Linked DNA regions of Homo sapiens: region 2 is linked to region 1. Evidence: promoter capture Hi-C in human tissues and cell types (Jung and others, 2019). All regions are on one chromosome and are shown on one strand. The core of a region is centred on a gene start or on the middle of the fragment in contact, and the rest is flanking DNA. Distances in the headings are between cores, read along the strand shown.

What was found. Contacts are between HindIII fragments. The study calls those that stand out against the background at their distance.
Region 2: a contact is called between a fragment that was not itself captured here and the fragment with the promoter of ADD1 in region 1, in 1 of the 25 tissues and cell types used here (dorsolateral prefrontal cortex).

The regions. Positions count from the first base shown.
Region 1 is chr4:2,841,766-2,847,555 of GRCh38, reverse strand. It overlaps ADD1 (adducin 1), which reads right to left and starts at 3,712. Exons shown (of 16, transcript NM_001354761.2): 1 at 3,532-3,712. RefSeq lists silencers at 3,251-3,400, 3,521-3,710, 3,771-4,150, 4,251-4,300 and an enhancer at 4,429-4,940. The HindIII fragment of the contact is 4,953 bases long and covers 80-5,032 here.
Region 2 is chr4:2,536,688-2,542,549 of GRCh38, reverse strand. It overlaps FAM193A (family with sequence similarity 193 member A), which reads right to left. Exons shown (of 21, transcript NM_001366318.2): 1 at 5,380-5,862. The coding sequence starts at 5,634. Among named protein-coding and RNA genes, the nearest start is that of FAM193A, 3.0 kb to the right of the region's middle. RefSeq lists silencers at 4,900-4,949, 4,694-4,988, 4,990-5,149, 5,200-5,489, 5,570-5,669. The HindIII fragment of the contact is 7,680 bases long and covers 422-5,862 here.

The DNA.
Region 1 (5,790 bases), core at 2,463-4,962:
TCTTGTTCTGAGACTGAAATGTGTACGGTGTGGGTTGAAACAGTGAGCAAGTAGAACCAAAATGTTTGGCTTAGAAGAAAAGTAGATACAGGTATATAAAAATGAGAAGGTTGAGTAGAATCCTAGTCTTACTTCCTTTTTTTTTTTGAGACGGAGTTTCGCTTTTGTTGCCCAGAATGGAGTGCAATGGCACTGCGACCTCCGCCTCCTGGGTTCAAGCGATTCTCCTGCCTCAGCCTCCCTAGTAGTGGGGATTACAGGCATGCACCACCATGCCCAGCTAATTTTTGTATTTTTAGTAGAGATGAGGTTTCACTGTTGTCCAGGCTGGTCTCAAACTCCTGACCTCAGGCGATCCACCTGCCTCAGCCTCCCAAAGTGCCGGGATTGTGAGCGACCGCACCTAGCTTGTTTTTTGTTTTTGTTTTTGTTTTTTTGAGACGGAGTCTCGCTCCGTGTCGCCCAGGCTACAGTGCAACGGAGCGATCTCCACTCACTGCAAGCTCCGCCTCCCGGGTTCACGCCATTCTCCTGCCTCAGCCTCCCGAGTAGCTGGGACTACAGGCATCCGCCACCACGCCCAGCTAATTTTTTGCGTTTTTAGTAGAGACGGGATTTCACCATGTTAGCCAGGATGGTCTCGATCTCCTGACCTCATGATCCGCCCGCCTCGGCCTCCCAAAGTGCTGGGATTACAGGTGTGAGCCACCACGCTCGGCTTTTTTTTTTTTTTTTTTTTAAAGAGACAGAGTAGTGCAGTGAAGTGATCATGGCTCACTGTAGCCTCGACCTCCCAGGCTCACAGGTTCGTACCATCTTAGCCTCAGGAGCAGCTACGATTACAGGCCCATCCTAGCATGCCCAGCTTCATTGGCTACTTTTGAAGGATATTAGCGAAACAATTCATTATGTGAAACCTAGTAAATAATGGAGAAGAATTAAGCATTTATCCTCCCTTTTCTGTAAGAGATACCTCAAGATAACCAAATAGTGGAGGCATGAAAAATTATCTTTATAAAAATATTCTATTTAATAAAAGAAGTTATAGAATTCAAATATCAATATATTCAATGCTTGCTGAAATGACTGTAGGCACTGACAATCAAGGGCTGCGAACAAAGACTACTAATCATTTCTGCCTACTTACCTAAGAAGTTTGCTTGACAAAAGTAAAGCTGAATCTGATCATACCTTTAGATCTAACCACCAGTTTTCAGTAAATTCTGTGAAACTATGCCACAGAGTAAAATTGAGACTGTGCATAACTCCACATGACAAACTACCAGGTTTCATCCATAAATAAATTACAAGAGAAAACTAAATATGGAGGGGAAACTATCAATTAAAATGAGTCACACTGTATAGATAGCATGTGGATCGATTGAAATTGTTAAGAAAAAAAATGAGAATTCTGACAATTTTAACACTGGCTGGATATTTGAAAGTATTAAGGAATTATTCATTTTCTGTGATAGTGGTACTCATGTTTACCTTTTGTTTAAGTCTTTAAGATATACATATTGAACTATTTAACGGTTAAAGGATATCTAGGACTGCGGGGATATGATGAAGCAAGATTGACTGTTGAAACTGGTTGAGAAAAGGGGTTTATACTATTCTCTCTACATATGTGTATATGTTAAGAGGTAAACATGGAAGGAAAGAAAGGAAGGGCAGTCAATCTAACTCTAAGTTTCAAGCAATAAGTAAATATTTTGTTATCTTTCAAAGCATTTCAGTATTTACTTTTCTTATTCAATTCAAAGACTATAAGAACTAAAAACTAAAAATCATGTAAATAAACAGTTTTTATGGCAAAATCAGTAACACAAAACTGAACACCAAACAAAACCTTCTCAGTATATCAGATAACATCAAAAGAATTAAGGGGAAAAATGACCAGCTTGTACGAAGTATATTTTAGAAGGAAAACTATCTCACAATTCGGGGACTGGCTAGAGTTTAGACTCACATCACTCAGCGACTCTCCGAAACTTTAAAACCTAAAGACACCACAAGTAGAAAACTAACAAATCATACCAGCTGTCCATACCATTGTAAACCACATCGAAACTCTGAAAAGCAGTTTTGACTGCCCAAATCATCCACTTCCTGAAAAGACAACTTTACTATTCTAGTTTTCTCCACTGTCAAAATCAAAGGAGTATATTAAAATTTTAACGTAGGCCAGGCGCGGTGGCTCACGCCTGTAATCCCAGCACTTTTGGAGGCCTAGGCGGACGGATCACGAGGTCAAGAGACTGAGACCATCCTGGCCAACATGGTGAAACCCCGTCTCTACTAAAAATACAAAAATTAGCTGGGCGTGGTGGCGCGCGCCTGTAGTCCCAGCTACTCGGGAGGCTGAGGTAGGAGAATTGCTTGAACCTGGGAGGCGGAGATTGCAGTGACTGGAGATCGCGCCACTGTACTCCAGCCTGGCGACAGAGCGAGACTCCGTCTCAAAAAAAAAAGGTATCATCGCGGGCCTTTGTCCATTCAAGGCTCCAAAGTTTACAAACTCACTTTCATACAATTCACACCCTCTGCCTGAAATGCCCTCCTCTCTCTGGTGCCTGTTGAACTCCTACTCATCCACTCCAAGCTTGTTTTCACTAGGCGCCTCTACTCATAGACACAGTCGACCTATCAGCATTCTATTTCCTATCCCCATTAAGATCTCAGTCAATTTTTCACACAAAAAATCTTTCTTTAACTTACCAGTAATGCATACAGCTATCAGCTATGTCTTTGGTCTTTGGAGATATGACAATTGCTTTTTGTCTTTCTAAACATAAATTATGCTCAAACCAACAACAGTTTCAGGCGAACCAAAATACGTTTTTCAAGGTGGGTATGCATAAAGTGAATGCAAATTACCTCCCAACTATCTTGAGCCATTACAAGAGCAAAGATAAAAGTCATCCTAACAGGGAAAGGCCCTCTGACATCTCCCAAAAAACGAAAATAAAAGATTAAGAAAAAAGAAAAGAGAGGGAGGGCAAAGGTGACCAACAGCCCCATCGCTGATAAAGTTCCACGATTATCTCTCGAGCGTCCGTCGGCAGATATGGCTTTTCTCTTTTGGCAGAAGCCGTCGTTTTTAAATACGAGAGCCGACAGATGCGTCCGTACACAAACCTTGCAGCCACCAGCGCTGCGGACCGCGGAACCGGTCTCACAAGCAGGATGCTGACCAGCGTCCAGCCAGGGTCGTCCTCCTCCGCCCCCACCCCTGCAGCCCACAAGCCGGCCAGGAACGAGCGGCCCGGGAAAAGCCTAGTCCCCGGGGTCCTATCCCGATGAAAGATCTGCGGCGCCCTCGCTCCCCGGCTCGGCCCAGGCCGAAGGCCCCGCGGGGACCCCTCCAAGACGCCCTCGGCGCCGCAGCGGCCTCCCCGCCCCCGAGGCTGCCCGGGCCGCCGCAGGCCCCGCGGCCCCCGCCCGCCGCAACCGCGGCCCAGTTCCCCGCGCCCCCGCCGCCGCCTCAGCCCGAACCGGGCCCCCGCCGCCCCCGCTAGCTAGCCTCACCTCAGAAGCGAATCGTGGGCAGCGCGCGGGATTCCGGGGTCCCAGTGCGGCCACCGCCCGTCGGCTCCGGCTCCGGCTCCGCCCCCGTCCCCTGGCCCGCAGCAGCGGCCCGCCAGGCCTCTCCGCCCCTCAGCCCCTCCGCTCGCCCCCACCGCCCGACCTGGGTGCGGCCTGCGGCGCTGCAGCCCAACAACGCGCCGTCCCATAGGCCAAGCCGCGCAGCACTGCCGAGCAACGTACCCTGCGATTGGCGGGACCCATGAGGGGCGGGTCCCCTGCGGGCAGGGCGATTGGACTCGCCAGGCCCGCCTCGGGGCGACCCCGCCGGGGCCTGCGGAGGCCCAGGGTCCCGCGCGGAGTACACCCCGGCCGGCAGCTTCGGGCGCCAGGTCATGGCTTCACGGTGGCCAGGTAGACTGCGGCGAGCCCCTGCCGGGTCCGCTGGACACGGTTTCATTGTGATTGACCTCCGCCGGAGGGGCTGTCGGAGCCCAGGGACCCTGCCCTCCCGCCGCCGCCCAGCGCACTCCCCCAGCAGACGGGCCCTGCCCCGCGTAGCCCCGCCTTGTGCAGTCCCCAGGCCGAGTTTTGGGGCCCGGGTGGGGTCAAGGCAGCAGGGCCTGTGGGCCCCGATAAGGCTCCACAGAGGACAACTGCCTGGCCCCCGGGCCCGGCCTGCGGGTGCTGAGGAGACCAGCGAGCACCAGCCACCTCCGCACGACCAGGGAGTGAGCCTGCGGGGCTTTGGCAGGACCAGCCTCAGACCAGCACCTTCCCGCACACTGTCCCTCCTGCTGGCGCATCTGACACCCAAAAAAACAAGCAGCGAGACAAATGGGCACGGCTGCTTGTCCTCTTGACACCCATAGAAAGCTTAGGTCCAGAGCTGGGCAGTGGCAGAAGAGTGTGGAATCCAGACCTCCCTGCTCAGCAGGAGCCTCTGTGACATTGCCCCAACAAGGGTCAGGGATACTGTCTGGATGGAAGCCAGCGACCCCTGTTCTAACCATTTCTGTTGGACGTTGGCTTTTCCAAGACGATTTTTCTGACAAGATCACAATTCTGTCTCATTCACTTCTGCTTCCCATAGTTAATCACTAGGGAAACGCAAATCAAAACCACTGTGGGATACCACTTAACATTCATTAGGATGGCAGTTGAAGAAGCAGGGAGTTGGGCGCAGTGGCTTCAGCCTAAAATCCCAGCACTTAGGGAGGCAGAAACAGGAGGATAGCCTGAGCCCAGGAGTTGGCAGACTTGACTGGACAACATAAGGAGACCCTGTTCTCTACAAAAACGAGAAGAAAACAAAAAGTTTCAAGGGGGGAGAAGGAGGAAGAAGAGGAAAAAAAGAAAATAAGTGTTGGCAAAGATGCGGAGAAATTGGAACCCTTTGTGCATCGCTGACGGGAATGTAAAATGGTGTGGCTGCTGTGGAAAACCGTAGAGTGGTTCCTCAAAAAATTAAACATAATTACCACATAATCCAGCAATTCCACTTCTGGATATATACCCCAAAGAAATGAAAACAGCTATTTGTACCATGTTCATAGCAGCATTATGCAGAGAAGGAAATTCTATTTATTGGGGTTTTGTGCCTTTTTTTTTTTTTTTTTTTTTTTTTTGGAGTCAGGGTCTCTGTCGCCCAGGCTGCAGTGCAGTGTTGCAACCATGGCTCACTGCAGCCTTGACCTCCTAGGCTCAAGGGATCCTCCTGCCTCAGCCTCCCAAGTAGCTGGGACTACCAGCACGTGCCAACATGCCTGGCTAATTTTTGTTATTTTTTGTAGAGACGGGATCTCACTATGTTGCCAGGGCTGGTCTCAAACTCCTAGGCTCAAGCAATCTTCCCAAATCCAAACTCAGCCTCCCAAAGTGCTGGGATTACAGGCATAAACCCATAAACCACGATGCCTGGCCAAAAGAAAGGAAATTCTGACGCATGCTACAACATGGATGAACACTGAAGACATGCTATGTGAAATAACCCAATCACAAAAAGATAAATGTATGATTCCACTTGTATGAGGTGTCTAGAGTAGTCAAATTCAGAGAGACAGGAGGTAGAATGGTGGTTGCAAAGGGCTGGAGGAATGGGGATTTAGTGTTTAATGGGTACAGAGTTTAAGCTTGGGGTGATGAAAAAGTTCTGGAGATGGATGGTGGTGATGACTGAACAATAATATGAATATTCGCAAAGCCACAGAACTGTACACTTTAAAATAATTAAAATGATAAACTTTATAATATGAAAATTTT
Region 2 (5,862 bases), core at 3,012-5,511, 310 kb after region 1:
GAATATTTTACCCCAGTTACCATAAAGAGTTTCTTTAATGAACAATTATTAAAATACTTACAAAGAAACTTAAAAACTAAAGACAGCTTTAAAAGCTTAAAATATCGGCCAGGTGCAGTGGCTCACGCCTGTAATTCCAGCACTTTTGGAGGCCCAGGCAGGTAGATAGATCACTTGAGGTCAGGAGTTCGAGACCAGCTTGGCCAACAAGGTGAAACCCCGTCTCTACTAAAAATACAAAAAATGGCCGGGCGTGGTTGCTCACGCCTGTAATCCCAGCACTTTGGGAGGCCAAGGCATGTGGATCACAAGGTCAGGAGTTCTAGACCAACATGGTGAAGCCCCGTCTCTACTAAAAATACAAAAATTACCCAAGTGTGGTGGCACATGCCTGTAATCCCAGCTACTCAGGAGGCTGAGGCAAAAGAATCACTTGAACCCAGGAGGCGGAGGTTGCAGTGAGCTAAGATCACCCCACTGTACGCCAGCTGGGGTGACGCAGTGAGACTCTGTCTTGAAAAAAAAAAAAAAATTTGCCAGGTGTGGTGGTGCACTCCTGTAGTCTCAGCTACTCGGGAGGCTGAGGCAGGAGAATCACTTGAACTCAGGAGGAATCACTTGAACTCAGGAGGCAGAAGTTGCAGTGAGCCGAGATGGCGCCACTGCACTCCAGCCTGGGCGACAGAGCAAGACTCTGTCTCAAAAATAAAATAAAATACCATAAAAGATGGTGGCATATTTTAAAAGCTTAAAATACAGTAAAAGCAACTGTCAAGGTGCAGCACACAACTCAATAGTACACAATAGAGAGGCTGCAGTGGGTCACACCCGTAATCCCAGCACTTTGGGAGGCCAAGGTGGGTGGATTACAAGGTCAAGAAAGAGAAACCATCCTAGCCAACATGGTGAAACCCTGTCTCTACTAAAAATACAAAAATTAGCTGGGCGTGGTGGCACGCGCCTGTAGTCCCAGCTACTCAGGAGGCTGAGGCAGGAGAATCGCTTGAACCCAGGAGGTGGAGGTTGCAGTGAGTCAAGATCACGCCACTGCTCTCCAGCCTGGTGACAGAGCGAGACTCTGTCTCAAAAAAAAAAAAAAAAAAGTACACAATGAACTAATTCTGTGGACTATAACCCAGATTTTATTAATGAGATTACATGGAACAGAAAAGATCAGAAAAGTATTAAAATATTTTGTTTGTTTTTTGTTATTTTTTGAGACAGAGTTTCGCTTTTGTTGCCCAGGCTGGAGTGCAATGGCACAATCTCAGCTCATGACAATCTCCACCTCCCAGGTTCAAGCAATTCTCCTGCCTCAGCCTCCAGAGTAGCTGGCATGACAATCTCCACCTCCCAGGTTCAAGCGATTCTCCTGCCTCAGCCTCCTGAGTAGCTAGGATTACAGGCATGCGCCACCACACCCAGTTAATTTTGTATTTTTAGTAGAGACAGGGTTTCTCCATGTTTCTCAGGCTGGTCTCAAACTCCTGACCTCAGCTGATCCTCCTGCCTCGGCTTCCCAAAGTGCTAGGATTATAGGTGTCAGCCACTGCGCCTGCCCTTTTTTTTTTTTTTTTGAGACGGATTTTGAGACACAGTCTTGCACTGTCGCCCAGGCTAGAGTGTAGTGATGTGATCTGGGCTCACTGCAACCTCCGTCTCCCAGGTTCAAGTGATTCTCCAGCCTCAGCGTCCGGAGTAGCTGGGATTACAGGCATCCACCACTATTCCCGGCTATTCTTTGTATTTTTAGTAGAGATGGGGTTTCATCACATTGGCCAGGCTGGTCTGGAACTCCTAACCTCAGGTGATCCACCTGCCTCAGCCTCCCAAAGTGCTGGGATTACAGGTGTGAGCCACCGCACTCGGCCTGTTTTTTCGTTTTTGTTCGTTTGTTTTTTTGAGACGGAGTCTCACTCTGTCACCCAGGCTGGAGTGCAGTGGCGCCATCTCGGCTCACTGCAAGCTCAGCCTCCTGGGTTCATGCCATTCTCCTGCCTCAGCCTCCGGAGTAGCTGGGACTACAGGGCGCCCGCCACCACGCCTGGCTAATTTTTTGGGGTTTGTTTGTTTGTTTGTTTTGAGACGGAGTCTCGCTCTGTCGCCCAGGCTGGAGTGCAGTGGCGCCATCTCGGCTCACTGCAAGCTCCGCCTCCCAGGTTCACACTATTCTCCTGCCTCAGCCTCCGGAGTAGCTGGGACTACAGGTGCCCGCCACCACGCCCGGCTAATTTTTTGTATTTTTACTAGAGACGGGTTTCACTGTGTTAGCCAGGATGGTCTCGATCTCCTGACCTCGTGATCCGCCTGCCTCGGCCTCCCACAGTGCTGGGATTACAGGCGTGAGCCACTGCGCCCGGCCATTTTTTGTATTTTTAGCAGAGATGAGGTCTCACCGTGTCAACAAGGATGGGATTTTTTTTTTTTTTTTGAGACAGAGTTTCACTCTTGTTGCCCAGGCAGTAGTGCAATGGTTAGATCTCAGCTCACTGCAACCTACATCTCCCAGGTTCAAGCAATTCTCCTGCCTCAGTCTCCCGAGTAGCTGGGATTACAAGTGCATACCACCACACCTGGCTAATTTTTGTATTTTTAGTAGAGACGGGGTTTCACCATCTCTGGGGTTTCATCATCTGTCAACCAGGCTGGTTTCGAACTCCTGACCTCAGGTGATCCACCCACCTCGGCCTCCCGAAGTGCTGGAATTACAGGCATGAGCCACGGTGCCCGGCCCTAAAATGTTTTGTGAAATTTTTGTGTTTATGTGTATGTTTCCTAGATCTTAACGGATTTTATTTCTTGGAGTGGGTCATAAGAGTGGGTCATGGTCAAAAACCTTGATAGGCCAGGTGCAGTGGCTCAGGCCTGTAATCCCAGCACTTTGGGAGGCAGAGATGGGAGGATCACTTGAGGTCAAGAGTTCAAGACAAGCCTGGGTAACATAGTGAGACCCTGTATCTATATTAAAAGAACAAATTAGCCAGGCATGGTGGCACATACCTAGAGGCCTAGCTACATGGAAGGACTGCTTAGCCCAGAAATTGGAGGTTACAGTGAGCTATGACCAGGCAACTGTACTCTAGCCTATGCAACAGAGAGAGACCGTGTCTCTTTTAAAACAACAAAACCCTGATGCATACTAGTTTAACAGAATATCACAGTCCTGTCAAAAATAATACTCAGGTGGGCACAGTGGCAAGGGTCTGTGCCCTTAGTAATTAGTAAAACTAAGATGAGAGGGATCCCTTGAGCCCACAAGCTCAAGGCCAGCCTAGGCAACATAGCAAGACCCTATCTTAATAATAATAGGCATACAGTTATCTGATTTTGAATAACGCGACAAAAATAATAAAGGCAGGGCTGGGCACGGTGGCTCACGCCTGTAATTCCAGGACTTTGAGAGGCCAAAGCAGGTGGATCAGGAGGTCAGGACTTCAAGACCAGCCTGCCCAACATAGTGAATCCCTGTCTCTACTAAAAATACAAAAAAAATTAGCCAGGCATGGTGGCAGGTACCTGTAGTCCCAGCTACTTGAGAGGGTTAGGCAGGAGAATCGCTTGAACCCGGGAGACAGAGGTTACGGTGCGCCAAGATCGCACCACTGCACTCCAGCCTGGGCGACAGAGTGAGACTCTGTCTCAAAAAAAAATAAATAAAAATAATAAAGTTATATTTTACCTAAGTATTGCAAAGCAAATGTAAATTATTAAAACTTGAAATGGTATGAAAGGCTAAAACTAAGAATTTTATTGTGCCACCAACTGGTTTTTATTGAATCAATAGAAATGAATATATTCCACATCCAGCTACACCAAAAATTATCAATATTTTGTGTAAGGATATGCACAGGCAAACCCCCCCCGCCCTCCCCTACCCGACAGCAGCAAACACTGCCCTTAAAAACCCCAAAGATCCAAACGCTCAAGACTCATCCTTGATCCCAAGAACTGCGGCCTGTTTTGATCTCCAGGATACTGGATGAGGGCAATCTCGGGAGACTGAAGTCCAGGACTACAGCCCAAGACCCTAATGTAACAATATAATAATAATAAAAACGGCCGGGCGCGGTGGCTCACACCTGTAATCCCAGCACTTTGGGACGCCAAGGTGGGCGGATCACCTGAGATCACGAGTTCGAGACCAGCCTGGCCAACATGGTGAAACCCTGTCTCTACAAAAATTAGCCGGGCATGGTGGCGCATGCCTGTAGTCCCAGCTACTCGAGAGGCTGAGGCAGGAGAATCGCTTGAACCCGGGAGGCGGAGGTTACAGTGAGCCAAGATCGCGCCATTATTGCACTCCAGCCTGGGCGACAGAGCGAGACTCCGTTCTCAAAAGAAAAAAAAAAAAAGAACAATTTGTGTCATGATTTAGCACAAAAATACTCCCAACGCTTCTTTCATTTTTTAATTGCAATATCTTTAAAACTACATAATTTAAGAGTTTAAATAACATTATAAGAACGCAACTTTTCAAAAAAAATCTATTCTCTTTCAGCAGACAATGGGATAACTGGAAATGACTGCGCCAATTGCATACCCACTTATAAATAGTGTACCCTCTGAAATGTTGTGACCAACGGTTGAATAAAAGTGGCAGGAATCCATAATTGGTAGGTGCAATGTGTGCTAGCTGTCTTCATAAACAAAACTGAAAAAAATCACCTTTCAAATTCCTTAAGTTCGAACCCTAAATACATACCTGAGTAACCAAACCACTAAATACCCCTGAAAACTTAACAAAGCGGGGGAGGAGGGGCCAGGGCTGCCAGCTCCAGGTGGCTGTCAGGTAGATTTCAAATAACCACATAGGAGGACCAAAGGAAAACTTCCGGGAGGCCCTTCTCAATCATCACGCGCACGGAATAACGAAGGTGGCCAGAGAAACATTTCAAAGCCCTGGGAGCGAAAGGGCAGCTTTGCTCACTCCCGGAATCGCAGTCGCTCTGGAACCGCCGCAGCGGGCGAGGCGCCACGACAGAAGCCCGGGCCTCGCGGGTATCACCCGCCGGGTCCAGCGGAAGGCGAAGCGCCGTGCGCGGAGCTGCACCCCGGAGACGTCCCCGCCCGTTGAGGGGCTGCTCCAGCCTGCGGACCAGCCCGTCGCCGTGAGCGGCGGCCCCGGTGTAGCCCTCCCGCCGCCTCTGCTCAGGTTCTCCTCTCAAGAGGCTGACAGAGGCCGCGTCACGCCGAGCACGGCCCACCTGCCGCCCTGCCCCGGGACCTCGGCAAGCGCAGCGCCGCAGGACCCGTTATCCGCCCGCCCGCAGCATCCCGCTCCCAGGCCCGGGGCCGACAGCGGGAGGCCGAGCTCCGCCAAGGCGCGAGGGAACGGCAACCGCGTACCGCCATCGACCCCTGCCCGCTGCCGCCGCTTACCTCGAAGTAGCCTCCGGGGGCGGCGCCGCCCGCGCTCGCGCCCGCGCCGAGAGGCCCGTTGGCCGCCGCCGCGCCGCCCACCAGGCCTGCCGCGCTGCCCGGGGCCGCCAGGCCCGCGGCCTGGGAACCGCGCAGCGCCGCCGCCGGGCCGGCCTTGCCGCTGCTCGCGCCGCCGTTACCCCCGCCCGAGCCGCCGCCGCCGCCCCGCTTGTTCTTCCGGCGCTTGGCCCCGCGCTTGGCGTCGGCTGGGCTCATGGCGGGCGGGGAGAGGGGCGCAGAGCGGGCGCGGGGGCCGCGGGCGGCGGCGGAGGGCGGGGAAGGCGGGGAGGCTGAGGCGGCCGCGGCGGCGGGCGCTCCGGCCAGCCGGGGGGCGCTGCGCGGGGTCGCGTCCGGGTCGGGGAGGGCTGGGGCGGGCGGGAGCTGCGGGGCAGGCCGCTGGGCGGGAGGAACCGCGAGTCCACAGTCCCGGCGCCGCGGCTGACC